2 separate regions of the Homo sapiens genome follow, and region 2 is linked to region 1. Evidence: promoter capture Hi-C in 16 types of primary human blood cells and fetal thymus (Javierre and others, 2016). All regions are on one chromosome and are shown on one strand. Each heading gives the region's core, a stretch centred on a gene start or on the middle of the fragment in contact. The rest is flanking DNA. Distances are from core to core; before and after follow the strand shown.

Region 1 (2,905 bases), core at 260-2,759:
CACTAGATCATTAACCTCTGGCCTAGGTCACCTCCGGCCTCCTTTTGGGCTAGGTGGGCAGTTCTCGGACCCTCCCCCACCAGCCCTGCTCTGCTGACCTAGAACCTCTGGCCCTGGAGATTCTGATATGTGTATTTGTGGTCTCTTCTCGGGCATCTCCCAGGCCACTGGGAGAGCTGGGGCCTAGAGCGTGGGGTGGGTGGAATCCTGAGGGCAGAGAGTGTGGAAGAATCTTACAATGGCAGCTCTAGAGGGAAGCCTGGATATGTTTGTTTGACAAACTGAGACCCAGAGAGGTAACATGACTTGAGGTCACACAGCAAGTCTAGGGCACAGTCAGGACTGAAAGCCAGGACTCTGGGGAGGCTAAAGCGCCCTGAGGTTTAGACCATCTGGTTCATGTAGAGAATGGAGAGGGTCAGGGCTGGGAGCTATGGGTTCAAATCCTGGCTCTGCCATTGACTGTACTTTTGTGACCTAAGAAAGTCACTTGAGCTCTCTGAGTCTGTTTCCTCAACTGTTAAACGGGACAATATCTACCTTTTGGGTTGTTGTGAAGATAAAAAAACACACCCATAGCACAGGTCGTGGCACACAGTAAGTGTGCCAATACATGTCAGCTAGTGGTATGGTGGTGCAATAGTAGGTGCCTAATAAATGTTGAATGCATTGTTGAACATGAGTTCACACGCTAACAGTGAGATTGTGAGACTCAGCTTTCCCACGTGTAAATCAGGACTCATAATCAGTCCCTGTCCTGCCACTTCTTTACAGCCCCGGTAGCAACATAGATTAAATAAGGTATGTAAACGTTCAAGCGCGGAGCCGTCTCAGGTCAATGTTTACTCAGCCCAGGGCAATTCCTCTCCAAGTCCTACTCTGCGAAATTTCACGTCAGCTTCACTAACTTCTCTACATTCCCAGATGCTCCCCGGGAACCGGGGGTTGGGGATGTCCCTCTTTTCTCAAGCCCGCCGAGCTGAGGAAAAACGGGGTGGGAAAGCAGAGTGTGTAAGGCTGAGGAGGTGAGCCAGAGGGGGGAGGGAGAGCAGGAATAAGGGCAGTGGGGAGAATGCAGGTGCACGGACGTGGTGTGGGTCGAGAACAGGGTCCGCATCGGGGGACTTGGATATAGGATGCAGTGAAAGGATTTGGGGAGCAGTGGGAGAGGTGAGGGCGCTGCGATCCGGGAAGAATCAGGAAAATAAGGAGCCGGTAGGAGGGAGTGGAGATCCTCCTCGCGGAGAGCTCGCCGCGGCGCAGGGCTCCCAGCTCCCCGCAGCTGCCTCCCCGAACACTCACCCTCCCGGTTCCGAGAACGTTTCCCGGCCCGAGCGCCCGGCCCGCAAACCGGGAGGGGAGGGGAGGGGAGGGGCAGGGGGGGATCCGCAGCCCGGGATTGGCCGCCGCCCCGCCAGCCGGTGACGCGAGGCGGGCGGGCCCCTTTGTGACGTCACAATCAGCTGTTTGAACGTTCCAATTTGTGCCGTGAGCCCCGCCGCAGCGGCCGCACAGACTCAAAGCCCCGCGGGCGAGCTCAGCAGCCCGGAGCGACCGCGGCCCCGCCGCCTCCCCCGCGAGTCCCGGCGATGCGGCCCGGCCTGTGAGCGGCCGGCGACCCTGGGACGCCCCGCCGCACAACTACCTCAACGCCGTGCCGCCCCCCTCCCGCCCCCAGGTGAGTCCCGACCCGGGTGGGCCTGGGGGCTCCCCTGCCACGGACACGCCCTGCGCCCCCCGCGCCCGGGCCTTTGTCTGTCTCCGCCGGCGGCCGCCGGGGCCGCGTTCCCGGCTCCCGATTGGTTGCCGCACGCCCGGTAGACCATGACGTCGTTCTATTTGCATATGACATTGAGACGTCACCAAGGCCGGTACCGCCCCCACAGGCTCGGGTCGCTTGTCCTCCCGTGACCCGGTAGCCGCTGTGTCGGGGCTGGGCCCTGGGTGAGACGCTGCAATCCAAAGGGGGCTGCAGGGGGATCGGCGATTTCCTAGGCTTATCCAGGGGCTGGGGTCAGGCCTCTGATCCCCTACTTTCTCTTTGCAACCTGAGAAGGAGTCAGACGGCGCTGCTGGGCCTAGGTTGAGGGGGTCGTCAGGAGTTCAGGGCTGCATGGGACTCCAGGTGGTTGGGACAGCACCAGATGGTGGTGGGATCCCCTCCCTCCGGCTCCAGACTCCGCCCCCAGGGACTAACAGAATAACATCCTCCTAATCCCTGATTTGTGTGCAGCGCCTTAGCTGATGTCACTCCTAGACCCAAAATGAAGGGTCTTAGACCCCAGTGCATGGAAGGGGCAACAGGCCCAGAGAGGAGGATTAGCTCTCTCGAGGTCACATAACCAATTAGAGTCATGCTCACTGAGTGACAGATGGATTATTAGCCAGGGGCAAAGACATAATAGGGGCTCAGTACAAGTGGTAAGATACACATCCTCCTTCCACTGGGGACCCGATCTTGGGCTCAGCCTTATCACGGTTTGATAGGCTCCTAGGTGTCCTTACTCCTGGACCCTTTTCCAGGGAATCTCTGGAGATTGGTTCACCTTTTGTGGTCCTGACCCCTTCTGTCCTCACTGTACCTTGAAGTCCTAGAGTCCAATAAAATCGCTGCCTCCCAGCTGTTTGGATCACAGAGAGGTGAGTCATTGGCTGCCTCGGGGTGTCTCCAGGGCTGATGTTGGGGTGGAGGGTGGGGTGAGGGTTCCCTCTATTGGCCCTTTACCTTCCCAACTTCCTAGGTCGTCAGCTAGGAAGGGCCTGACCTGGCCTAGTGCAGACAATTGCAGGTGTTTTGCTGCTCCCTCGTCACCTCTGCCCACAGAGAGTATAGGAGAAGGGATAGGATAAGGAGAGTTTCTGACTTAACAAGTGGATGGGCCTAGAGGCTGAACCAGGAACTCCA
Region 2 (2,905 bases), core at 250-2,749, 520 kb before region 1:
ACGGGGTTTCACCGTGTTACCCAGGATGGTCTCGATCTCCTGACCTCATGATCCGAAGCAGTAGGATTTAACTTCCTGATTATGTTTAACTTGGGTTGAAAACTGAAATAATTAGTAGTCTTTGGGAATGCCCTGATTGATCAATGAGGCACAAAGGAGAACCAATCAATCAGTCACTTAGAACTTGCCATCAGTGATCCACAAAGGGGTGTGAGAGTCATAAATAAATAATTCTGGTGGTAGTCCTAAATTGGTTCTTTTTTTTGTATTTGGTCATAGCACTAAACTAGGCTGGGAAGAAAGATTCTCGGGGCAGAATTCTGAAATCTTTGCCTTAGCTGTGTAACTGTTCAGAGAGGAATTTCTTTTCAACTTGTCTTTTCCTTTGGCCTCTAAAGTTCTTCTCAGAGAAAAAATCAATCCCCTGCTCCAGGCTAGGGCCAAGTGTGTAAGGTTTGTCAGTTTAATCTCTGTCCACAAGCCTAATCACTTTAAGCTGGCCTGTCCTGGGGCTGAGAATCTACTGACGGTGTTTTCGTCTTTCTCTTAGGAGGATCGTGAATTTCCTAAACTGTCTTTGAGAGACTCAGATATTTTATTTTATAAATGGCAGTGACAGATGTTATGTATCCATTGCTAATGTTATCTGTACAAAATCAAGAAGATATATTACAGTGGATACAAACCTAGAGTGCCTTTTGGATATGGCAGGTGAGGAGTGTTCCTTGATGGTTTGTTTTCAGTTCAGTGCAAGACACTCCTGAAGCACATCACTTACTATAAATGACCTTTAAGAGGAAAAGATACTTTGGAGTTACTCTATCACTTGAAAATGGGGCAGGACCATTACAAGAGTAAATATAGTTATTTATGAAAAGCCAGATCTCCAAGTCCAAAAGGAGAGAAATAACTATTATTCATATAGTTCAGTCCTTAGAACCAATTCTCCTCTGCTGTGTATGGCATTTCCACATCTTGTTTAGACTTCAGGCTGAGCCTGTAATTGTTTGGCTGTGGGAAATGAGGGAGTGTATTTCAGAAAACCCATCTTCCCCTCGCACTTCCAGGGTCCTATTCAGATCGACTTGTTCTGCTACCATTTTACCCATACCCAGCATCCCGATATTTATTGAGCATATTTATGTGTGCCATTCTATCCTAGTTCCCAAAGGGGATACAAAAACGAAATTATACGCAAGATGGTAGAGCATTTACACAAAATCGTAAAGGAGGTGAAGTTGGCCAGTTTAGTTTTTTCAGTTTACTTGGGGAACTCATTAGCCTGCTTTCAGCCCTTTTGTCTCCGAAAGCTTAGAACATGTACTGCTGGTGGTATGTGAGATGGTTTAAGTTAAACAGAAGATGACTTTAGGCGGTAGATGGACAAGCATAAGATTATCACATCATGGAAAAGTAATTTCCTTTTTAATTTGCTTTCAAGCCTGGATTCATCTAGAAGAAAGTCTCAGTGGGGGTTGATGTGTCATTAACATATTCCAAAACTTATTCCCTTTTAACATATTCCTTTTTAATCAAGAAAATAGACCTCAGAACTGGAGTGCTCTCCTGGTAACAGTAGTTATTTAGAATTTATTGACATTGTATTATTAATTTTTTCTAGGATTATATTCTGTTTATGAAAAATGACAGTAACATGCTATAAATTTTCCAATTTACACGAATGTATTTAAGCTTTGAAAAAGTTATTAGTTGATTTAAAGAAAAATATTGAGTAAATAATAATATAGCTGGGTTGGAGATATGGTTGAAATCCTGACATTGCTATTCAAATGACTGAAGTTTGGGAGACACTTCTTTCCCCCACCCGGAGCCCAAACAAAATTACTATTTGTGACCCATTCCTGCCCTCTGCTTTACCTAAACCAATTCAGGATCATGATAATGACCAATAATATAATAAGAACCATACTTCTCCCTATAAGCATTATGATAGGGCTCTGAGATCTTTAACCTAAAGAGTCATTTTAATGGTAGAAATTTCTAAAAAGACAGGATAATATATTTGTAGTAGATGAAACTGTCACAATAATGACACTATCGAGTGCTGTCATTTAGACTTTTTGAGTATTCTCTAATTCTCACAACGACCGTGAGGCATTTTTCAGATGAGAAAACTGAGGTTCAGGGAGGTTAAACAAAACCTCAAGCAATAAGGAGCAGAGCCACGGTCTGGTGCCTAGAACTTCTGGCCATGTGGGTAGCTTAACTGCTCCCCCTAAGGTTTGTTTTCTTTTTTTTGAGATGGAGTTTTGCTCTTGTTGCCCAGGCTGGAGTGCAGTGGCGTGATCTCGGCTCACCGCAACCTCTACCTCCCGGGTTCAAGTGATTCTCCTGCCTCAGCCTCCTGAGTAGCTGGGATTATAGGCATGCACCACCACGCCCGGCTAATTTTGTATTTTTAGTAGAGACGGGGTTTCTCCATGTTGGTCAGGCTGGTCTCAAACTCCCAACCTCATGTGATCCGCCCACCTCGGCCACCCAAAGTGCTGGGATTACAGGCATGAGCCACCACACCTGGCCCTGCTCCCCCTAAGTATTAGGCAAACCCTGGAGAAGCCACACGGATGAACAGCCTGAGGAACTCAAGGGAGCATGTGAATAGGTGCACAATAACACATTATAACACAGGGAAACTCTGAAATACTATGGGAGGAAGTACGTTCAGAGTAGGTGAGACCAACTGAAGGAAGTGGGGACTCTACCAAAGGAGTCACCTCATTGCATTTATCTCTGCCTTGCATTCTACCCCTCTGCCTTACAGACCTCCTTGTAGGGCCAGGTCAGGCTTCATGTCTCCCACCAACCCCAGTCACTCAGAAAGGAGCAAGTACTCTGGTTGCCATATTTCTGTCTCTGGAAAGGATGCCTGTCTTCCCAGTTGGGA

The links. The method cuts DNA at HindIII sites, captures the fragments that hold promoters and counts their contacts. A CHiCAGO score of 5 or more calls a contact.
Region 2: a contact is called between a fragment that was not itself captured here and the fragment with the promoter of TP53INP2 in region 1, in 1 of 17 cell types (endothelial precursors). The highest score is 5.4, in endothelial precursors.

Annotation. Positions count from the first base shown.
Region 1 is chr20:34,702,835-34,705,739 of GRCh38, forward strand. TP53INP2 (tumor protein p53 inducible nuclear protein 2) reads left to right here and starts at 1,510. Exons shown (of 5, transcript NM_021202.3): 1 at 1,510-1,678; 2 at 2,524-2,640. LOC105372599 (a long non-coding RNA gene) reads right to left here and starts at 1,348. Exons shown (of 2, transcript XR_936690.3): 1 at 1,303-1,348; 2 at 825-979. RefSeq lists a silencer at 1,306-1,785. The HindIII fragment of the contact is 9,202 bases long and covers 1-2,905 here.
Region 2 is chr20:34,187,001-34,189,905 of GRCh38, forward strand. It overlaps a transcript of ASIP not described here. Among named protein-coding and RNA genes, the nearest start is that of ASIP, 53 kb to the right of the region's middle. The HindIII fragment of the contact is 382 bases long and covers 1,309-1,690 here.